Linked DNA regions of Homo sapiens: all the other regions are linked to region 3. The links are contacts of gene promoters, found by promoter capture Hi-C in human tissues and cell types (Jung and others, 2019). All regions are on one chromosome and are shown on one strand. Each heading gives the region's core, a stretch centred on a gene start or on the middle of the fragment in contact. The rest is flanking DNA. Distances are from core to core; before and after follow the strand shown.

Region 1 (3,959 bases), core at 1,113-3,612, 37 kb after region 3:
CAGAATGGGACACAGTTGTTTAATGGAACTCATCTATTCTCAGTATTCAGAGACTGACTAAAGAAGATATGGGAAGATATATTTAAATTTGCTCCTTTCTATTTATCTCAGTTTGTCTTTCTACTCCTTTCTCTATCTCTGTCTAACAATCTCTAGATCAAATCTCTCCAAAGCTATCAGCTTGGTTTTTGATATGAAACTTATTTTAAATTGCAAATAGGAGACTGAAGGAAATTAAAATATTTTACCCCCAAATATATTTATTTGATGTATTTTGAAATGGCTGCCTCTTGGCCATCCTATTAGAGGTGGCATTGCAAAACTATCTTAAGTGGGGAAAATTTGCATCTGCAGAGAATCTCCCTTAATGCAGCCATGCCTCCCTCCCCTTCCTATTCCTTTCCCTGGGTCCAGGAGAGACTGACAGTCTGACATCTTTTAAAGTCTGAAAGGAAACATTTACCATCTGTTTCCTCTGAAGGGGGCTTCCTCCACATAACAAGGCCATCTTTGCTAGCCAAACTTCTTCTTTTCTCTCTTAACACCTCTTGCCACTGAAGCTGATTTAGCTGTTTCTGGCAATCCTCTGAGTGTGCTTTCTTTACAGTGGCCTCAGGATGGTATGTAAGTGTCTGTAACTCATTGGGATGTTGGGTCTTCATTCTGAAGGCTCCCTTCTATATATTGTTAAATAAATTTGTATGCCCTTTCTTTCATTAATCAATCTGCCTCCTGTCAGTGATTTTTTAGCAGTCATTTAGGGGGCCAAGAACATTTGGCCCTCATGCCTTTTTAATTTATTTCCTTTCATTTTTCAGAATGAACTGCTTTCCTTAGTTCCTGGAACATCTGTGGTACTCCATAAATATTTCTAGGACAAGTAAGCACTTCAATTATTTTACACTGTTTGTGGCATTTGGGTTACATAGTGATATGGTTTGGATTTGTCCCCACCCACATCTCATCTTGAGTTGTAATTCACACAGTTCACACATGTCATAGGAGGAACCCAGTGGGAGGTGTTCGAATTATGGGTGCGGGTCTTTCTTGCACTGTTTTTGTGATAGTGAATGAGTTTCATGAGATCTGATGGTTTTAAAACACAAGTTTCTCTGCACAAGCTCTCTGTTGCCACCCATGTGAGATGTGACTTGCTCCTCCTTGCCTTCCACCATGATTGTGAGGCCTCCCCAGCTACATGAAACTGTGAGTCCAGTTAAACCTCTTTCTTTTGTAAATTGCCCAGCCTTGGGTATGTCTTCATCAGCAGTATGAAAGCAGAATAATATAATAAATTAGTACTAGAAGTGGGGTGCTGCTGAAAAGATATCCAAAAATGTGGAAGCAACTTTGGAATTGGGTAACAAGAAGAGGTTGGAACATTGTGGAGGGCTCAGAAGAAGAAAGGGAAATGTGGGAAAGTTTGTAACTCTCTAGAGACTTGTTGAATGGCTTTGGCTAAAATGCTGATAATGATATTGGCAATGAAATCCAGGCTGAGGTGGTCTCAGATGAGGAAGTTGGGAACTGGAGCAAAGGTGACTCTTGTTATGTTTTAGCAAAGAGACTGGCAGCATTTTCTCCTGCCCTAGGGATTTGTGAAACTTTGAACTTGAGAGAGAGGATTTAGGGTATCTAGTGGAAGAAACTTCTAACCAGAAAAACATTCAAGATGTGACTTGGGTGCTGTTAAAGGCATTCCGTTTTATAAGAGAAGCAGAGCAAAAAAGTTCAGAAATTTGCAGCCTGACAATGTGATTGAAAAGAAAATCCCATTTTATGAGGAGAAATTCAAGCTAGCTGCAGAAATTTGCATAAGTAATGAGGAGCTGAATGTTAATTACCAAAAGAATGGGGGAAATGTCTCCAGGGCATATCAGAGACCTTCATGGTAACCCATCCTATCACAGGCCCAGAGACCTAGGAGGAAAATGTGGTTTTGTGGGTTGGGCCCAAGCCCCCCATGCTGTGTGCAGCCTAGGGACCTGGTGCCCTGTGGCCTAGCCACTCCAGCCATGGCTGAAAGGGGCCAATGTAGAGTTTGGGCCATGGCTTCAGAGGGTGAAAGCCTCAAGCCTTGGCAGCTTCCATGTGGTGTTGAGCCTGCCAGTGCACAGAAGTCAAGAATTGGAGTTTGGGAACCTTTGCTTAGATTTCAGAGGATGTCTGGAAACACCTCGATGTCCAGGCAGAAGTTTGCTACAGGGGCAAGACTCTCATGGAGAGCCTCTGCTAGGGCTGTGTGTAATTTTGATCTGCCTCAGCTATGGGGAGACTCACCACCAGGGAGATTACCACCATCATAGCTACCATTAGATTACTCATGGTCAGCAGCTTGTTCTGAGACCTCAGTTTCTCTTCTGCAATGTGAGCTAGTCTCTTCATCTGCCCCCAGGTCAGTGGAGTTGCTTGGTGAGTTTTACTGGTTTCCATCTGCTCAACAGAGATGTTTATCTGAGCCATCAGATGAACTGGGGGTGCAGGGACATTCTGAGGTCTTTTCCTCTTCCTTGGATTCTGGCTCATGGAACAGCTTAAGATGTCTTGTGGTACCCAGACAGGAAGCTGATTCTCTCCTGGTGAGGTACAAGCAAACCCTCGACCCCATGTAATGATTTTGCCCTTTTCCCAGGTTTTAGTTCTGACGTCCTTCCACCACTCATGTTTTCCTTCATGAGGATTTATTTTTTGCCCTGTCAAATGCTGCTCTGCTGCCATTATAACCTGATCTCTAGACAAATCCAAAAAATTTAAAGTGATAATGTGTCTGGAATTGGTGGGTTCTTGGTCTTGCTGACTTCAAGAATGAAGCCGCAGACCCTCACGGTGAGTGTTACAGTTCTTAAAGATGGTGTGTCTGGAGTTTTTTCCTTCTGATGTTTGGAGGTGTCTGGAGTTTCTTCTTACTGGTGGGTTTGTGTTCTCGGTGACTTCAGGAGTGAAGCTGCAGACCTATGCGGTGAGTGTTATAGCTCTTAAAGTCTGCACGTCTGGAGTTGTTCATTCCTTCCAGTGGGTTCGGGGACTCACTGGCCTCAGGAGTGAAGCTGCAGACCTTCGCAGTGAGTGTTACAGTTCATAAAGGTGGCATGTCCGGAGTTGTTCGTTCCTCCCAACCAGAGTTGTTCATCCCTCCCAGTGGGTTCGTGGTCTCACTGGCTTCAGGAATGAAGCTGCAGACCTTTACAGTGAGTGTTACAGCTCATAAAGGCAGCACAGACCCAAAGAGTTAGCAGCAGCAAGATTGAATATGAAGAGCAAAACAACAAAGCTTCCACAGCATGGAACGGGACCCGAGTGGGTTGCCGCTGCTGGCTGGGGCAGCCTGCTGTTATTCCCTTATCTGACCTCAGCCACATCCTGCTGATTGGTCCATTTTACAGAGAGCTGATTGGTCCACTTTACAGAGAGCTGATTGGTCTGTTTTGACAGGGTGCTGATTGCTGCCTTTACAAACCTTTAGCTAGGCACAGAGTGCTGATTGGTGCATTAACAATCCCTTAGCTAGACAGAAAAGTTCGCCAAGTCCCCACTAGATTAGCTAGACATAGAGTGTTGATTGGGGTGTTTACAAACCTTTAGCTAGACACAGAGTGCTGGTTGGTGCATTTACAATCCTTTAGCTAGACAGAAAAGTTCTCTGAGTCCTCACCCGTCCGAGAAGCCCAGCCAGCTTCACCTCTCAGTGGCACTCGCCATGGGATTTAGCGGCACCTAGCCTGGGCACTCTGGCAGCCCAGAGGGAGCTCATCCCCAGATCAAGCCCAGCAGGCGCCAGCTGGCTGTGCTGAGTGTGGGGCCTGCCGAGCCCATGCCCACCTGGAACCCACACCAGCCTGTGAACGCGGCACACAGCTCTGGCTCCTGCCCATGCCTTTCCCTCCACACCTCCCCGCGAGCAGACAGAGCTGGCTCTGGCCTTGGCCTGCCCCAGAGAGGGGCCCTCATGGTGCAGCAGC
Region 2 (3,851 bases), core at 1,279-3,778, 43 kb before region 3:
CTATAATTACCAAGTGGAGTTTGTCATTTTAATTTTGAATAGTATGTACTACGGTTTGAGTATGCCCTCCAAAACTCATGTTGAAATTTAATTGCCATTGTGACAGGTTTTTTGTTTTGTTTTGTTTTAGCTTTTGTTTTTTTGAGATGGAGTTTTGCTCTTGTCACCCAGGCTGGAGTGCAATGGCCTGGTCTCAGCTCACTGCAACCTCTGCCTCCCAGGTCAAGCGATTCTCCTGTCTCAGCCTCCCAAGTAGCTGGGCTTACAGGTGCCTGCCACCACGCCCTACTAGTTTTTGTATTTGTAGTAGAGACGGGGTTTCACCATGTTGCTCATGCTGGTCTCGAACTCCTGACCTCAGGCAATCCACCTGCTTCGGCCTCCTAAAGTGCTGGGATTACAGGCATGAGTCACCATGCCCAGCCTATGACAGGTTTAATAGGTGGGACCATTAAGAGGTGTTTAGGCCATGAAAGCTCTGCCCTCATGAATAGATTAATGTTGTTATTGTAGGAGTGGGTTTGTTATAAAAGCAAGTTTGGCCCTCTCGTGCTCTCACCCCCTCTTGCCCTTCTGCCTTCTGCCATGGGATCATGCTGCACTAAAGTCTTCACCACATGTCAGCATCATGCACTTGGACTTCCAGGACTCCAGAACCATGAGCCAAATAAACTTCTTTTCCTTATAAATTACCTAGCTTGTGGCATTCTGTTATAGCAACACAAAATGGACTAAGTATGTGACATATGCTTTTAAATGTTATAAAAATTGCAACCATACATTAACCGTTCTAAAACATTGAAAGTAATATTTCTTTAGAGTGAATGAAAACTTATACATTTGAAAAAAATGAATGAGACTTCTGAGGTATGTAATATAAAATTATACAGGCCTGACATAGGAAGGCAAAATAAATTAAATATCTTAATTGGAAAATTGATATTTAACTGTATTTGCCCCCCTATGACTTAAGAGTAGTCTAGACATTATACTTTTCTATCTAGTGTGCTGAAATATGTCTTGATGGTAAATTCAAGTAATAGCTACACGTGTCTTGTATTTTTGCAGTTAGTTGAATGAACAGGTTTAGTTATCATTAGTCATAGAACTCCAGGCCACGGTATGATTAAATAATATTCAATTTATAATTCATTCTAAATATGAGTTTTATATTTAGATTCCTGTTGAGATATCACATAGAATAAAATAATTTAGCTCTCCCTCTCCCTCTCTCCCTCTCTCCCTCTCCCCACAGTCTCCCTCTCCCTCTCTTTCCACGGTCTCCCTCTGATGCCGAGCCGAAGCTGGACTGTACTGCTGCCATCTTGGCTCACTGCAACCTCCCTGCCTGATTCTCCTGCCTCAGCCTGCCGAGTGCCTGCGATTGCAGGCGCGCGCCACCACGCCTGACTGGTTTTCGTATTTTTTTGGTGGAGACGGGGTTTCGCTGTGTTGGCCGGGCTGGTCTCCAGCTCCTAACCGCGAGTGATCCGCCAGCCTCGGCCTCCCGAGGTGCCGGGATTGCAGACGGAGTCTCGTTCACTCAGTGCTCAATGGTGCCCAGGCTGGAGTGCAGTGTCGTGATCTCGGCTCACTACAACCTCCACCTCCCAGCCGCCTGCCTTGGTCTCCCAAAGTGCCGAGATTGCAGCCTCTGCCCGGCCGCCACCCAGTCTGGGAAGTGAGGAGCGTCTCTGCCTGGCCGCCCATCGACTGGGATGTGAGGAGCCCCTCTGCCTGGCTGCCCAGTCTGGAAAGTGAGGAGCGTCTCTGCCCAGCCGCCATCCCATCTAGGAAGTGAGGAGTGTCTCTGCCCGGCCGCCCATCGTCTGAGATGTGGGGAGCGCCTCTACCCTGCCGCCCGGTCCGGGATGTGAGGAGCATCTCTGCCCGGCCGCCCTGTCTGAGAAGTGAGGAGACCCTCTGCCTGGCAACCGCCCCATCTGAGAAGTGAGGAGCCCCTCCGCCCGGCAGCCGCCCTGTCTGAGAAGTGAGGAGCCCCTCCGCCCAGCAGCCACCCCGTCTGGGAAGTGAGGAGCGTCTCCGCCCGGCAGCCACCTCGTCCGGGAGGGAGGTGGGGGGGTCAGCCCCCCGCCCGGCCAGCCGCCCCGTCCGGGAGGGAGGTGGGGGGGGTCAGCCCCCCGCCCGGCCAGCCGCCCAGTCCGGGAGGTGAGGGGCGCCTCTGCCCGGCCGCCCCTACTGGGAAGTGAGGAGCCGCTCTGCCTGGCTGGCCGCCCCGTCCGGGAGGGAGGTGGGGGGGTCAGCCCCCTGCCCGGCCAGCCACCCCGTCCGGGAGGGAGGTGGGGGCGTCAGCCCCCCGCCCGACCAGCCGCACCGTCCGGGAGGTGAGGGGCGCCTCTGCCCGGCCGCCCCTACTGGGAAGTGAGGAGCCCCTCTGCCCGGCCAGCCACCCCGTCCGGGAGGGAGGTGGGGGGGGGGGGTCAGCCCCGTGCCCGGCCAGCCGCCCTGTCCGGGAGGTGAGGGGCGCCTCTGCCTGGCTGCCCCTACTGGGAAGTGAGGAGCCCCTCTTCCCGGCCACCACCCCGTCTGGGAGGTGTACCCAACAGCTCACTGAGAACGGGCCATGATGACAATGGCGGTTTTGTGGAATAGAAAGGGGGGAAAGGTGGGGAAATGATTGAGAAATCGGATGGTTGCCGTGTCTGTGTAGAAAGAGGTAGACATGGGAGACTTTTCATTTTGTTCTGTACTAAGAAAAATTCTTCTGCCTTGGGATCCTGTTGATCTGTGACCTTACCCCCAACCCTGTGCTCTCTGAAACATGTGCTGTATCCACTCAGGGTTGAATGGATTAAGGGCGGTGCAAGATGTGCTTTGTTAAACAGATGCTTGAAGGTAGCATGCTCGTTAAGAGTCATCACCACTCCCTAATCTCAAGTCCAGGGACACAAACACTGCGGAAGGCCGAAGGGTCCTCTGCCTAGGAAAACCAGAGACCTTTGTTCACTTGTTTATCTGCTGACCTTCCCTCCACTATTGTCCTGTGACCCTGCCAAATCCCCCTCTGCGAGAAACACCCAAGAATGATCAATAAAAAAATAAAATAAAATAAAATAAAATAAAATAAAAAAAGAGTTCCTCCTGCCTTGTCCTCCTAAAGTAGTTGGGATTACAGGTGTGAGCCACCGCACCTGCCCTAAATTTTTTTTAATTTGGTGTCCTGAGATAAGAAAATGTTTCACCATTTGTTAAAATTTTCTTTTGTATCATTTACAAAATTGTTCATTAATTTCTAATAGATACATTCAATGTTTTTTATACTGAGACAAAAAGGAATTTTGAATTTTTTGCAATAAATTGCATTTTAGTTGTGAATTTGGCATTTAAAAAATCCATTCTAATAAATTTTCAGTACAATTAAAAAAAAATAATTTACTGTAATTCTTTCTGCAAGCTTTTAAAGAAATTATATGAGGTAAGACTGCCGCCTGCTGGTCAAGATGTGTTGCTCATTTACATTTCAAACTTGTTTTTCACGATAGCATAGGATGTGATAAATCCAATTCAAAGCAATCCAACATACAGACTTTTGAGATGTCCTAGGTTGTCACAAATTATTGATGCTTGGACATTCTAACAATTATCATTCCCACAAGCCTTTCGTGTTTATCCTTCCCTCTTGATGACTGTTGATAACAAATCTCTGGCTGCATATTTCTGAGTCTTTGAAATGTACAACTTAGGGGCTAAGTTGCATTTATGCTCCTTTCTCTTGAGCAATGTGAGCTAAGCATCCATCTGTAGGTGAGAGATCTCTAAGTGTTGCTGAACCTGCTGCATAACTGCACTCCTCTACCTTATCTTTTTCTGACGACATCTCACAAACATAT
Region 3 (3,813 bases), core at 1,142-3,641:
TTCTCTCTAGGAAGAGTTCTATGGCTACCTAGAAGTTCAGACTCAATAAGTTGTTTGTATCATGGAATGTTTGAATAAGCCTATGTATATTTAACATATTACATAACTAACACATATATACATGAATAACATTTCAATACACTTTTCAATCACAGAACAAAGCAGGTTTTAATAAAGTATAATTTATAGATTCTCTATAAATTATCCTTTATCACTTGAAGAAGACCAGCTAAGAAAGTCAAGGTATATGTTTCAGCTTGCCTTTAAGAAATTAAAGACATTTGAACCTATGAGGGCAATGTATTTGAATGGCTGCTTGTTTAGACTATAGAAATGAATGACTATATTCAATGTATTTGCATGACTGCTTGTTTAGACTATAGAATGAAGAAACGGAAGATCCAGGATGCTTAAACTTTAAAAAGTTGAAGCTTCCTGGATCTTCCGTTTCTTCATTTCTCCTGATATGTTTGTTTCACCTGGACATCTTCTCATTTTTTTGGACTCAGCTCTAATGGTATTTCCTTCTAGAAGCCTTCTTGGTCATTTGCGATTGAGAAGCAATCACTGAGGAGTGTTAAACATTCAATATCCTTTCTGTTCTTAATTATCCTTTGAAAACCTTTCCCCAGACCTTCCTAACCATTGAATACTCATTTGGTTAGTATTCAATGACTGAGTATTTGGTCATTGAATGACCAAATGGGTCAATGGCTTTAGAATATTTATGAATGGACCTTAGAATATTTCTTTAATATTCTTTATCAATGGGCCTTAGAATATTTCTTATGAAAATAAGCCAATAAAATTATGTTAAGTATTGATACTTACCCAGCACTCGGAGAATACTGAAGTGCTCTCTTCATCATCTCTTCTCCAAATTGGATGGTCTTTCCATTTTCTACAGTGATTACGGCAGTCTTAAAAGGAAACATGTTTGGATTTGGTAAGCCACCAGCCAAGGAGATCATCGATTTTGGTCCTCTGCTCAATATGTCAGCTACAATACACATGGAAGAGAAGAAACAATTTCATTGAAGATTGTTATAAGCGGATAGTTAAGCATGCATTATAGTCAATAAAACTATAAAGTTTAACGATTTCTAGTGATAGAGTGTGCTATGGTCTAAATGTTGGTGCTCCCCCAGATTCATACTTGGAAGTTAATACTAATGTGATAGTTTTAACAGGTGGGGTCTCTAGAGGTGATTAGGTCAGGAGGGATCCACCCTCCTGAATGGGATTGGTGCACTTATAAAAGAGGGCTGAGGGAATGCCCTTGGCCCTTCTGCCACGTGAGGACATAGGTTCTCCCTTCTACCACGTGAGGATGCAGCAAGATGGCTCTGTCTATAAGGAAGGGCTCTCACCATGGTGACACAGAAGCTGCTGGCACTTTGATCTTAGACTTCCTAGCTTCCAGAACTGTGAGAAATAATTCTATTGTTCATAAATTACCCAGTTTGTGGTATTTTGTTATAGCAGCCTGAATGGACTAAGACAAAAGCTAGTCTAAAATAAACATACAGAATAACTTTTTCTAGGCACCTCACTTGTGGAGGGACTAAAGAATGAAGGTGACCAAAGAGAAGGCAGAGGGATCAGAAAGACAGCAAAGGGCCACAATAGCAGAAGCCCTCCTCCACTTAGCCCCGACCTGTCTGTGAGCTTCATGGCCCACCCCTCTCCCATTTACCTGGCCCTCTCCACTGTACACCCATCTGCACGCTGTGCATGCCCCTTCTCAGCTTCCCAGGAAGAGCCTTTCTTGATAGCACGCCCCCTCCCTTCCAAGGCCGTGCCCCACAGCAGTCTGCGCCTCTCTCTACTGTTGCTCCTACTCTGCTCCAGCAGAAATACCCGCCTTCCGTTTCAGCCCGAGTTCTTTGAGAACAAAGGCTGTGTCTATTTCATTTCTGCACGCAGAGCCTGGCTCACCGCGAGCGTGCACAGGGGTACGCATGGATGCAACCAAGCGGTGGCTTGCTAGGGAACCCTCCTTAGAGGCTGTGCGAGGAATGCCCCACCCCAAAGGAGAGATGGTCACCCCGTTTCTCACTCATGGTCCGGATGGGAGAAGGGTTTCTGGCTGCGCTCGCTGCCGTGATGAACCGTGCGTAATTCATGTCTTCTGACAGCCAAGCATCAAGCTTCTTCTTCAGTGGTTGAGGACTAGAAAAACCAAAGAGCCTCGTCAAGTCCTGCCTGCTAACTCCTCACTCTGGCAACGCCACCGCGAGATGTGTCCCCCCGCTGCGTCTGGCTTCCCGCGCGCGGTGCCCGGAGAACGCCGCCGAAACTCCCCGGCTGGACGCTGCGTTCGGTCTCCCGGTCCTAAACGGGTCTGGGGCTGTGTGGCGAGCCCGGCAAAGTCCACGCCGCACGCGCTCCTGCGGCCGCCAGGGCCCAGGCCGGTTTTGCCCCGCCGCGGGCCTCGCCGCGCCCCCTCCCGCCCCGCGCCGTGGCCTATGGCCGCCCGCGGCGCGCGCCTCCCCGTCCCGGATCATCGCCCTCAGAGCGCAGGGCGCGGGGTAGCCCAGGCGCGAGGCGCTTGCAGCCCCAGGCCAATGACTCTTGACCTCGCCGCTGGGAATCACCGCAACCCGGCGTCCGCGTTGGCCGGCCTAGGCGCCGGCCCAGAGGCTAGCCCAGGGGCTGACCGAGGGGACCGGAAGTGCCCGTGATCCTAATCCTCGGGAACCATCTGGCGGCGACTTGGGTCCACTGCAGGGGGCTCCCGAGCTGCGCCCAGCCGGGAGCGGCCCCACCCTCGTTCCCGCGCGCTCCGCTGGCCTCCTCTCAGTCACTGGGACTGTGCATTTTGCCCGCTCAGACCATGGCTATGCTAAATACCCATCTTTCGTTAGTGAAACTCTGGGCACTCTCCTGGGAAGCATCCCGGCGACCAAGACGAATTTCAACATCACTTTCTCGAAGATCTCAGCATTTTGGAGTGACGATGGAGTTCTGACAAAAATTTTTGAAAAATCACTCTGAGTCTCTTCAATTTTAGTGTCTACCCTCACATTGAATTTCTGACCTTTCGTTAAATAAGAATTATGTTGGAAGTGAATATCCGGATCTTTTTGGGTCTAGCACCTTGCCTTTTTTTTTCTTACAAAATAACCCTTCTTACTCCCCACCTCCCTCAACTTTTCTGCAATTTCTCCTTCCTGAATCACCAAAATGGAATGTACAAGGTTTAATGTGAGCACTTAATGAGGGAAGGGTTTCAGACAACCTCTCTTTGACTTTAAAAAATTCTTTAATGGTTATTAAAATGAATGAACAGATTCATTCATTCAGCACAAATTTACTGAGTACTTCCTAGATGATTATTGACTCACTGCCAAATGGCTCTCTTTTAAGTTTACCTAATAGGTTGGTCAAGGAGCCACTGCTTTTATCTAGGTCCTGGCAGCAAAAGGCTGAGATAACCCAGTAAAATCTTTGTGCTAGCAGCTAAATAACAAAAAGGAAGTATTGAGAGGTGACAGCCTGCTGGCAGCCCTCGCAGCCCTCGCTCACTCTTGGCGCCTCCTCGGCCTCAGCGCTCACTCTGACCGCGCTTGAGGGGCCCTTCAGCCCGCCGCTGCACTGTGGGAGCCCCTTCCTGGGATAGCGGAGGCCGGAGCCGGCTCCCTCAGCCTGCGGGGAGGTGTGTAGGGAGAGGCACGGGCGGGAACCAGGGCTGTGCGGGCGCTTGCGAGCCAGCTAGAGTTCCGGGTGGGCGTGGGCTTGGCGGGCCGGCACTCAGAGCGGCGGGCCGGCTCCGCCAGACCCGGGTAGTGAGGGGCTTAGCACCCGGGCCAG

What was found. The method cuts DNA at HindIII sites, captures the fragments that hold promoters and counts their contacts. A contact is called where the count stands out against the background at its distance.
Region 1: a fragment that was not itself captured here is called in contact with the fragment with the promoter of AADAT in region 3 in 2 of the 25 tissues and cell types used here (mesendoderm cells and pancreas).
Region 2: a fragment that was not itself captured here is called in contact with the fragment with the promoter of AADAT in region 3 in 1 of the 25 tissues and cell types used here (hippocampus).

Annotation. Positions count from the first base shown.
Region 1 is chr4:170,124,104-170,128,062 of GRCh38, forward strand. No RefSeq gene overlaps it. Among named protein-coding and RNA genes, the nearest start is that of AADAT, 36 kb to the left of the region's middle. The HindIII fragment of the contact is 6,977 bases long and covers 1-3,959 here.
Region 2 is chr4:170,044,507-170,048,357 of GRCh38, forward strand. No RefSeq gene overlaps it. Among named protein-coding and RNA genes, the nearest start is that of MFAP3L, 20 kb to the left of the region's middle. RefSeq lists an enhancer at 959-1,498. The HindIII fragment of the contact is 3,764 bases long and covers 647-3,851 here.
Region 3 is chr4:170,087,565-170,091,377 of GRCh38, forward strand. It overlaps AADAT (aminoadipate aminotransferase), which reads right to left and starts at 2,392. Exons shown (of 13, transcript NM_016228.4): 1 at 2,060-2,392; 2 at 832-1,000. The coding sequence starts at 2,126. RefSeq lists a silencer at 1,614-1,908 and an enhancer at 3,808-3,813. The HindIII fragment of the contact is 6,677 bases long and covers 1,291-3,813 here.